Regions from separate parts of the Homo sapiens genome. Here region 2 is linked to region 1. Evidence: promoter capture Hi-C in human tissues and cell types (Jung and others, 2019). All regions are on one chromosome and are shown on one strand. The core of a region is centred on a gene start or on the middle of the fragment in contact, and the rest is flanking DNA. Distances in the headings are between cores, read along the strand shown.

What was found. Contacts are between HindIII fragments. The study calls those that stand out against the background at their distance.
Region 2: a fragment that was not itself captured here is called in contact with the fragment with the promoter of SGIP1 in region 1 in 1 of the 25 tissues and cell types used here (hippocampus).

What each region holds. Positions count from the first base shown.
Region 1 is chr1:66,531,435-66,537,372 of GRCh38, reverse strand. SGIP1 (SH3GL interacting endocytic adaptor 1) reads right to left here and starts at 3,220. Exons shown (of 25, transcript NM_032291.4): 1 at 3,005-3,220. The coding sequence starts at 3,014. The HindIII fragment of the contact is 7,701 bases long and covers 2,368-5,938 here.
Region 2 is chr1:66,580,623-66,586,560 of GRCh38, reverse strand. All of the region lies in intron 1 of SGIP1 (SH3GL interacting endocytic adaptor 1), which reads right to left. Among named protein-coding and RNA genes, the nearest start is that of MIR3117, 45 kb to the left of the region's middle. The HindIII fragment of the contact is 8,908 bases long and covers 1-5,938 here.

The DNA.
Region 1 (5,938 bases), core at 1,971-4,470:
ATTGTAAGCTTAGCCAATATGTACACTCCATAGTTAATAATTCCCTTTGCTCATCATCTTTCCTTTCATATTTATACTACAGAAGGCTCCAGATCATGTGGCTTTCTTTAGAAAAGAAACAACTCAATGCCAACCACTGCCAAAAGATAAAGTATGCAGGAAGCAGCAAATCAAGTCCCCTAAAATATGTTTTTTAATTAAAATATGTTAAAAGAACCATGGAGCCACAAACCACTAATCACCTGCTTGTGGTCCCTGGGGAATTATTTCGTTGACTTCCACAAAATTAGGATCACTGAGGAGGTAGTAACATTTATCATCTATGATTGGATGGATTTCCAATAGGCATTGAATGAATGGAGCCTATATCCTGTTCCACACAAACAAAACGTAGTTTACTATGACCCATTCTGCTGAATATTTGTTTACTCTTGCTTTACACAAAGTAGAGAAGTGCCTTTGAAAAGTTGCCATGGCCATGCTTTTTCTGAGCAGCAGACTAAAACACTTTAGCAATATAGAAATGTACAGCCACACGAGTGCAAATATATGTTTTCTTCCTTTCCAGAAATGTGTTTGGGTGGATGACTCTGTGTGTGTGTGAGACACACTAGTTCAGAAGAAATATGATTTTAACTAGATGTTTGGTAGCACATTCTCAGAGTCCACTAATGTTTCAACGAAGAGCTGCCATGACAAATTTGGGGTGCCTTTTATGAGGTTCCTTATCTTTCCAAGGTTATTGTGGTAGATGTACAGAGGCTGGCAATCTCTAGAGATGAGTTAAGTTGAAATAATAATTATATACCACACCTTCAGAATAAGAGCAATTCAGAGGTGAAATTCTGCCATGCAATACCAGAAACATGAATGTATATTGCCAAAAAGACTGTCAACTAAGTTGGAAGGCAACTGATAGCAAATTGATTTTTGGTTAAACTCCTATTTGCCTTTCTAAGGTCACCGAACTATTAAGATAATAAGGCTTAAAAACATTTAAGTAGGAGCTATGGGTAGAAATAAATGTTAATTTCATTTAGCTATTTAAGCCAGTGGGAACACCTGTCCAATTTCTCTTGCAAAAGATCTGGTGAAAGACAACTGTATCCATAGTATAATTCATACTAATTCATACCAGTGCTAAGATAACATTGTTCATTAGATAAATTTGGCAAACCCAGAGCAATAGTGCTAATTCAGCTCCAGCACAAGTCTTTGTTGCAGTTCTCATTTTGGTTTAGGCAGCCTGGATAAGCTTATCACAGAGCTTTGAACTGACATTCTTGGATGGCACAATAGACCATATTACCAGGAGAATCATTCATGAGCATCAAAAAACGTTACAACCTTCAAAGAAGATACTTTAGTGCCATGGTTTGCAAGGCAAGAAGTGAAAAGAAAGAGCATCCAATTCTCTATGCAACACTGAAATCTAATCAGAATGTGTGCAGATGCATTTTTAAGAAAGCTATATGAAGTTGAGCTGGAGAAATACAGTACCTCTACAGGCAAGATATTTTTTCTGAAGAAGATAATCCACATGAGCTTTTAATTGAAAAGTGCATAAATAACACTCTGTCTTGCCTTGTTATTCAAAGATTAAATCAATTTTGAATTAATGAAAATGATTTAATCTGAGAGTGTTAGCAATCTCAATTTATTTAGGCCTGGATTTAAAGGGCTAGCTTGAGAGCCTTTTGCAAACAAGACTCAGCTCCATAACAAAATCATACCCAACCTCTCTTTTAAGGCTATCTTCTAAAATCTGTGGGTTTTGACTCTAGAATTCTTCACTCCCCCAAATCACATTAACAATGTTTGACATGATGACAGGGAGAGCAAAAAGAATTCATTTCTGCCAAATAAGTACAGGCTACACTGCTGTTTTTATGAAACCTTCCTCCTCTTATTCCATTTTGGTAAATTTCTAAGGAATAGTTAAAATCCGTAGGACAAACCTTGGCTTAAGAGGTGGCCTCTCTGCCATTTTCATGGCTGATTTGAGACCCATTATGCACTCAATTCTGCATTGTGAAATCCAGGCTGGGGACAAATTTCTGCCTGTCATCTTAGGAAAGGCCAGGAGTTTTGCACCATCCTATAGTGTGAAAACAGAAAATCAAAGCCTGCATAGAGCTGCTTGCTTCTTTCCTGATCAGCTTGCTGCTTTTTGGAGACAATCTTGGCTGTCACAGTGTCAGACTGGGAAGGGTAATTTAGCAGAATAAAATATAGTTTAAATAGCATCTCTCCAGGGAAAGTTCCTCCTTACACTCAATATTGAATATGCGAAAAGATCATCAGCAAATAATCATTTGATACTTGGCTAAAATCCATTGGACAGGGAAAGCATTTAGGGAGCACAAAATTCTTTTTTAACCTGATAAGACCCCGAATCAGGAGGCAAGAGGCCCGGATATTTTCCTTATATTTTTCATTCTGTTGCAATGACATTCTCATACAACTACAGTTTATGGACCAAATTTGCTGCCCTCCCCATCCCAATAATATGATGTAAACTGCAGAGATAAAAATACCTTATGAGAATTTTTACAATTTTAAACAGTTCACTGAAAATGTCTGTATGGATAACTCTGTTAATGACCTCTCCTGTCTAATGTCAATTTCAGAAAACAAGTTTCCATTGTAAATGTTTAATCAGTGTAGTCCCAGGAACCCAGAACAGAAAACCTTATCTTCTCGCCCAACTTATTTGCTCTGCAAGCTCTTTCCTAGCTCCATCTCAGCTCCCTGCAAACACTTTAGGCTTTTCTCTCTCAAAGGAGCTGGGAGCTCTGTAGGTTCTGAGCTAGGCAGCAGCCCTGTGGTTTGATTCCATTAGTCTGAGCCCAGATCCACTGCAAGCAAACTGCAGCATTTCTGCTTGCAAAACATTGGCAACCAGGTTCTAGAACCGCCACATACACTGGCTGCACATATTCTTTAATGCTGTTCTGCCCAAACCTTGCCTGAAGCCAGTCAACCATAGCAGAAAGCATCCTACCTTCCATCATGGTGGCAGAATTGCATTCCTTAATTTCCAAGGAGTCTGAAAAAACACAGGAGGATACGATTCCAGGTCCCAGCTAAGTCCTCACCACGCCGCTGCTGAGGTCTATTCCGTCCGCTGTCAAAGCCAAAGGAGATAAGTGTTAAGCCAAAAGACAGGCCATGGATGCTGCTGGTGCTTCTTCACCTACAGGCAGGCTACCAAGAAGATGCTGAGAGAAAGGGAGAGGAACGGCAAGCTGGCCGAGCTGCACCGCCTGCGCTGCCTCGGCCAATCCCTTCAGCTTTGGACCGCGTCACATGGTAGCCAGCCTGCATCTCCTGACACAATACCCCCGGAGAGCACACAGAACCTATTTCCCGTCCCCATTCCCCTCCACCCCCATCGCCTCCCGCTTGTCACCAAATACACAGCCCCTTCCCCACCTGGTGACGCACTTCCCCCGCCCCTCCTCGTCGTCTCCTTAAGCTTACAGAAGCGGCTGGGTGCCCGAGATTAGTTATCAAGGGCTGCCACCTTAACAGGGGACTCTGGCGTGAAAGCAGCACCTAAGTGGCTCGCTGCGGAGGGGGTTCTTTTCTTTTTCTTTCTTTCTTTCTTTTTTTGTTTTTTTAAGAAAAACTTAATAATTCCGTGCAGCCGGAAATCTTAGCAACACACTTCTAAGCTCCCATTCCGGTGTCCTTTTACCCTGAAGGAATTCCAAATGTCAGTGTCTGTGGCCTCCGTGCACATCTGTGCGTCTCTCTCTCTCTCCGTCTCTCTTTCTCCCCTCCCATCCTTCATTCAAGAGAGAAAAATCAATCCGACTGACGTCACATCATAAACATCCCCAAAAGGATGATGCAGAAGAAATTTCACCCCAGCTGCCTTCGTGAGAGCCAGGGAATTAATTGCGCATGACATGCTGAAGGGCTGGGAACTGTCATTAAAACAAAGAAACAAAAGAACCCACCCGAGTGGGGCTCTGGAATCAAACTGGCAACGCTCGAGATCGTTTCTGGGGCGGGAGGCTGGAAAGGGGAGCAGGCAGGGAGCGGAAGCCTGAGCCCGACCAAAGACAGCTGTGCACGCCGGCTCCCTCCCACTCCAACCTGGGCTCGCCGTCCGGGCTACAGACGGGACCCTGCGGGGCGCCCTTCGACGACCGAGTTCGAGTCCCGCCGCCACCGCGTCCTCCCCGCCGAGCGCACACGGGAGCGGCCTCGCTTCCCCAGGTGGGGAGCTTTTCTCGCAACCGACTGGGGCTGCAGCTGCCAACTGCAGTCTCTGTAGGAAACAAACTTTCTCCTAAATGACACGTTTCTCCGCGACGCGCCTCCTGCATCTGGAGTCGCCTTCAAGCCTATTCATTCACCCAAGTGGAAACCTGGAGGGAGGCAGTTGTGCCTGGTTGTGGCGGAGCCCAGGGTTTTGAAGCTGCCAGGAATGGGATCTGGGGGCTGTGTAGTTGCCTAAGTGGGAAGTTGTGTCACTGGGCCCGGTTGGGTTCAGTCTGTCACCTGACTGCTCTCCAGAGACCATGGAGCCTTTCAGAAGGGCCCAGCCCTGGGGGATCTACGACCCTTGGTTCCCTTCAAGAAAGCTCAGACAGCGAAGGAAGAAAAGGGCAGGGCAGCCTATGAGAGAGAGAAGGCAGAGAAAAAGGAAAGGAGATGGGAGGAAAGGGAACGCCTTCTTTAGAACTCAGGAAAAACAACATCAGAAGTGGGCATTTCTCCCTGTATAATCTCACAGTATGACCAGGAGAAAAGCTGTTACAATAGAGAGCAATTGTGAGCATCCAATGAAAATGTACTCAAAATAACTGGAAGAAGATGCATGGTATGATCAGGGTTGAGCCTGTAATGTATTATTAATCATTTCTATTAGCAATATACTCATGAACTTTTTCTATTGCTCAGCCCTGGACATGGCCTAGCTCTTTCTACCAAAGCAAATATGACGTACTGGTGACTGACTGAAGTAGCATATTAATAGTTGAAAAGCAAAACACAGCTCCTTAGCAATTTAGAAGTTTTGAAAAACCCATTGTTCTCCCTAAGGACACATACTTCAGTGGCCTCTAAATTTTAAAATGAAATTCTTCAGGGAGATACAAATACTTGTGACTTTTTTCTTATGTCTCTAAGACAGTTAAATTTTAAAAGGGGAATGAATTCCTAAGTAAAACCTGCCTTGAGTACAACTTACACTGCTCTGAAAACTGGAGGGGTATTATTGCAAAAAGGATTGATTTGTGTGTGTGTGTGTGCATGTGTGTGTGTGTTTAGCAAATGTTTTGTAATGATTAAGAACATTGATGGGTATTCGTGTCAAATAGATGGGCACCAAGTTTTGTTTGTGCCACATAATGAGCTCTGTGACTCTGAGCAATTTATGTAATTCTCTGTGCCTCACAGTTTTCTTATCCTGAAATGGAGAGAATAATAATGCCAAGTTAATTGAGCTATAAATGGTAATAATAACAAACCTGTATTAATGGCTTACTATGTGCCAGACAGTATTCAAATACTCTGCTAGTAAATTACTTAGCATTTTGTCTGGAGCATAATAAGACCTGCATGTTAGCTTTTTAGTATTAGTATTATTACTACCAAAGGGCTGGCAGATGCATCAAAGAAGTTTGCAGCCAACTGGGAGTTGTACCAAATGCACAGAGAACAAGTTAGTGAAAGACCAGGTGATGCATCCAAAGATGTAACATGTTGGAGATTTCTGAAAGGCTGCTAAGTAGGAAATCAAAATCTAATGAGGTTAATTAGGAAAGACTTTTTTTTTTTTTTTACAGAGGTGAAATTTCAGAGTTCAGAACTTAATTGGAATGGGCTTGAAGTGGTAGTTCTAAAGAATATAGGGAGTTGTAAGTAAGAAAAAAGTATCATGTAAAATCTGGAGGTGAGTGCAAGCACTGAGGTGCAGGAGTGG
Region 2 (5,938 bases), core at 1,142-3,641, 50 kb before region 1:
GTAAAATGAAGACATTGGTATACAGTAATAAGTTATGTAAATATGATGTAATATCTAGAGCAGCCACTAGAAATTCTATGCAATGAGATACACTTAAAAACATTATATAATTCTGAAAAAACATGTTCAAGTAACCTTCAGGAAGGCAGGAAAGAGAAAACGGAAATGAGGAAACAGAAAAGAAACAAAAATTGCCATAGTTAAACTCTAATCAGTTATATTAAGTGTAAGTAAGTGTCCTAAATATACCAACTAAAAGATAAAGATTGGTCAAGGGGATTTAAAAATATGACCCATCTATATAATGTGTACAAGAAACTCACTTCAAATATAATAACCTAGGCAAATTGAAGGCAAAACATGGGAAAATATATTATGAAGACATTGATCATGGGAAAAAAGGACTAACTTAGTATCAGATAATGTAGACATCAGAACAAGAAAAATTGCTGAAGGCATAAAGCAAAATTATATAATGATAAAAGAGACATTAGCAATTCTTAATGTTTAGGCACTAAACAATAGAGCTGCAGAATATGTGCAACAAAAATTGATAGAACGGAAAGAAGAAAAAGACAAATCCACAATTGTAGTTGGAGACTTTAAGACCTCTTTCTCAAGAATTGGTAAATCAATTAGACAGAAAATCACTAAATTATTTTCGCAGAGCACTTGGAGACAGTATTAAACTTGGAATTTCTCTAACACATACTCTTTCATAAGCATGGAACTTGGTATTCACTGGATTCCTTAGAAAACTCCAAAGCTCTTGGCCTGGCACAGTGTCTCATGCTTGTAATCTCAGCACTTTGGGAGGCCAAGGTGGGTGGATCACCTGAGGTCAGGAGCTCAAGACCAGCCTCGCCAACACGACGAAACCCTGTTTCTACTGAAACAAAACAAAACAAAACAAAAAACCACAAAAATTAGCTGGGTGTAAAATAACAAAAAACAAAAACAAAACAAAACACACACACACACACACACACAAACTCCAAAGCTCTTTTTAATTTTTCTCAAAATAGCACTGCCCATAGTGGGAGGGCTTAAAGAGTCACCCTGCTTTCTCACGGACTTTAAAATCTGCAGATCCAAAGTTAGCATAACTTGATATCCTAGACCTATTCCATGCAGAAGGAAACGTTCTGACATGTCACAGCACAAAAGTAAAGTCTCAGACTCCATGAGGGAAGGCCTAATAGACATTAAACTTAAGGCAGATACAAAAACAGTGGATCAAAGTCTCAGGAATGTAGAGTTCAGCACAAAACAAATGTAAGATTATAGAGGACTGTCAAAAACAATAAAACAGAACAAAACAAACTAGAACATGGCTAAGAATGCAAGAAGCACCATAGAGAAGGGCACATGTGAAATGATTAATAAGGAAAGGCCTCCAGCCAAGATAGAAAATCATCCTGTGACCAGAGGTAAAGGCACAGAGCAGGAGATAGACCCAGAGGGAAGAAATAATTATGATAATGGAAGAAAACACACATGTGACTGGAACATAGTTCAAGGAAGACTTCCAGGTAGAAATGTTGCCTGAATTCAGTTCAAGGGAAAGAGTAAGAATTTACAATGCTTGTTCTTTCTTTTTGTTTTGAGGGAGAAGGGTGGTATACTTAGCTGCCAGTCTATAGTTGTGTGAAACATTTGAGAAGGGCATGAAGAAAGGTCAACACAGCACTGGTGTCAGGAAAACACTAAGCACCAGGAAAGAAATCCCCACATGTTCATCTATCATATTTGCTGAATAATACCCAGGAGCACAGAAATTTGGCTACAGGGAAGAAGGTTTTGCTTGCTTCATATACCTACCACTATCTTAAAGCTGTTCTCTGTTAATTAAACATAGTGCATTAACCTGTTAAAATTACTGTCAAGTTTCAGATATCCCTAGATGTATACCAATATGGGAATCCTTGAAAATTACAACCTGCTAAGGAAGCTAACATAGTACAGTATTGACCTGAGTGATTCTAGTTCATGAAAAAAGAAGAAAAAACCCAACTTGTGAACATTTAGATCAGTTTAAATGTCCTTGTTTGCATTTGGTGTTACTGAGCTTCCTGGAGCTAGAGAAATTTTAACATGGGTTAGAGGATTTTTAACAGGGGCTACAGAAGAGATATTTGCACTGTTAGGCAATGGAATGGATAACCTGTGAAGTCCTTTCCAACTTAAAGATTCAGAGATTTGCTTCTCTTTGAGGAACATAAATTTATTTATCTAGGTATTGGAGAATCCAAACAGCATCTGATAAGCATTTATTATCTTCAAGGGCTATGGCTGATGCTTACTAACATTCAGCTTAATTTAAACTTTATTTCTTTTTAGCACCTATACTAGATATAGGTATTGAAAATATGGAGATTATTGAGATACAATTCATAAATTCAAGAAGCTTATAGTCTAATTGGAAGTAGACACCAAACCAACAATTTCACTTTAATCAGACAAGCCTCTGGTACCATTTCAAAGATAAATAAAAGCAACAACACCAACAAAACAGGCCTCTAAGGATTCTACTTACTAATTTACCTCAAATGCATTTCTTGGGAATCACTGGCTTCCTGTTGGAACTAGACTCTTCAGCAAAAATGTCCCAAGTTTAGCCAAGTACAACTTTTAGTTCACCATAGAGATGAAACATTAACCTTTATGAACCAAAGCTAAAGCCATGCAACAAAAATTTATTGAGCAGGTATTATGTGTTGACTACTGTACTAGGAGAGACGGCATCAAAGATGAATAACATTCCTCCCTTCATGGGGCTGATAATCAGTGATGCAGACAGGAGCAAGCTATGTGAACAAATGCAATACGAAGTGACTAAGGAGTATGCAGAAGAAGGACACTACTAATTCGGATGTAGGAGGGAAATAAATGGGGAATAGGAAGGCTTATCCAAGGATGTAAAATGAAGCACAGCTGAGGCTGCAAAAGAGTTTCCTCTTAAGTTTACCTAATGAAAGGGTATTTGGGCTTAAAGGATTGTGCTTGAATGTTTATGAACTAAGGAACTTGTATTTTTTTATGAAAATAAAAATGAGGATCATGAATTTCTGCAAAGGTGAAACCAGCCTTTGAGCAAATAGTTAATCCCAGTAGTTGACAAGAACGAAAGTGCGTAAGAGCAAACTAAGGAAGTAAGTGCAATGCAGTTATTGGGGCCTACTCCCCAAGACTCAGTAGGATGGGGTGAATCTGAATTTATAATAAGCACTTTAAAATTTTCCAGTGCAAACATTACATAGACTACACTTTGAGAATATTTTAGATGTATCCCAACTTTCCTACTACTAGGAAAAGCGCTAATGGCTCATCTCTTGCACAATTCCATCTTTCAGTCTCATCAAAACCACGTAAACTTTTCTGACTTACTATTACAGCTGAATTTTTTATTTATATAGCATAGACATATCTCACTTTCTCCTTGAGAAATACTTTGTAGGTGGTATCTAAAAAGCCATGTGTAATTCAGATATTTATCAATCAATTGATGTCAAACACATCAGAGATTTGATATATATAAAAATGTTATAAATATGTGTGAAATAAAATCATCTAATTTTTGTACAAATCCAAATTTAAGTTGAGTTTGCTTTAAAAGCAACATATGCCTGTAGATTATGTTGCTTCTTTTTTTTTTTCCTAGCATACAGCATCTTGTTGCCCCTCTGTTAAACAAAGATCTAAGGATTTAAGAATGAGAATCTGGGGCTAATTTATCTTAACAAAATCCTAAATTGTTCAAGGTGGATCATCTTTCTGAAGAACCATATACTTTGATATACTTATAGGCATATTTGTCTCACATTCTCATTGATAAATAGTTTTTAGGCAGCATCTAAAAAAAGCCATGTGTAATTCAGATATTTATGAATCAATTATCAATTATTTCTAATATAATTATGATGTTTATTTCATGCACTGATGACTCTAATTACTTCCTACATCTTTGACTGGAAACTGTTAACTCCTTTTCCACTGACATAAATTGGCAAAGCCCTTTACAAAAAAAAAAAATCATCTTCAGCCACTGAAGTGTATTTTCCTCTCACTTAATCAAAAACTTAATCAAAATGGCTTTCCTCAGATCATCCAGAGAGCAATGACTCTCCATTCATATTTGTGGTGCTAAGACCTGACCTGTTTTCATACAAAGTATCCCTGGTAGGGATGCTGACAGTAAGGTTCTTCTACCTTCATTCACCAGTTCATCTGGCCACTTCCTCTGAGAACAAATACTTCTGAGCAAAGGTTTTCATTTTCAGAGGCAATGTTATACAAATAATGTTTTACATTATCTATCCCATTACTATTCTAGTCCACTTAGTCTCATTCAGAATTTATGAGCCCTTTTAAAATCAAGATGACCTTTTCCCAAATTTCCAGATAACCCACAACCAACCTCTTTCCCAGCTCTAAAAGCATGGCAGAATGGAAAGTGCATTGAGTAGACTGTGGAAGACATGGATTCTGACTGATCCTGTTATCACCACTAACTAGGCAGTCCCTTCTTTTTGTGAGGTAAGATACTTAGAATCCATCATCTTTGTCTCAGAGATATAGTTCAATGCCTCTCCTTTTCTTTTTGTATAATTTTCCTGATGCCAAAGTACCACCTTAGCTTCTTAAAAGAAAATAAACAGTAACAATTTGTGAAGCAAATCCTAATTAGTGTCCTTTGTCTTCATTTGTTGAAGTAAAATTTGGTGAAAGTATCCAGTCTTCTTTTTTAGTGGTGAATTGTTAAATAAATCAAGACCTAACTCACATTTGATGCCATGTATTACGAAGGTAATCACTCTTCAGTCTTCAGCAGGGAGTACAAAATAAAACTTAATTTGGAGTTTTCTCATGAATCATGTACAATAACTCATCTTGAGCTGAGCTGAGGATGCGACAGGCAAAGCATTTTAAACTTAAGAGAAGGTATGAACCTCAACACATGAATTATTTTTATAGAGATGGATTTAATCATAAATAATTCTTATTTATTCTTTGAGTCAAGATTGGCAGAGCGTATTAGGAAATAACCTTGTTAAGAGTTATTATATACAATTAAATGTAATAAAAACTATATTTTATAATAACAGTAACAATAGCTAAGATTGAGCTCCTACTATTTATAAGGCACTATTCTATGGGTTTTATGGTTACATCATAAATACTTTCATTAACACCATGAGCTAGGGATATTATTACCCCTATTTACATACAAGAAAAGAAAGGTTGAGAACTTGCCTGAGTTTGCATAACTAGTAATTTTTCAAGCTAGAATTTAAAAATATACAGTCTGAATGCAGAGTTTGGACTCTTAAACCACTGTACTATGCTGCCTTAAATGAACCAATTGGCAATTTAAACAGACTGGGTTTATTGGTCTAAAACAGTGAAGTTTAATTATATACTCTCATGTCTTAGAGTGTTTCAATAGAGTGAGATTTTGAGTTTTTGACCACTAAGAAGATAAGTAATTGTGACGAGAAAATGTTACAAAATTTCCCCAAATTTTCCATACATTTGCTTAAGCTTTTGGTATATATGATGGCTTTTCTATAGGTTAGAGTGCACAGATCCAAACAAATGAAGAAATAAATACGCTTTAGCATAACACTTAGAAACAGCTGGTTGTTAGTTACAACAGCTCATTTTTTAGTGATGTATGTTTGCTTTTGTGATTTTATACTGTATGAATAAAGTTATATATTCTGCTAGTAAAATTAGCAATTAAGTATTTCAGCATTGCGTGGTGCTTCATAAAAAGCGCTATGTAGTCATGCATGAATCAAAACATTTATTGAGTACCTACTATGTACCAGATATTGAAGATAAAAATAATTAAGAATTCTTGTATAATTAAGATAAAACAAATATATAAAGAAATATCTACAATAAATTGCTATATTGGATGTTATTAATTTATTGA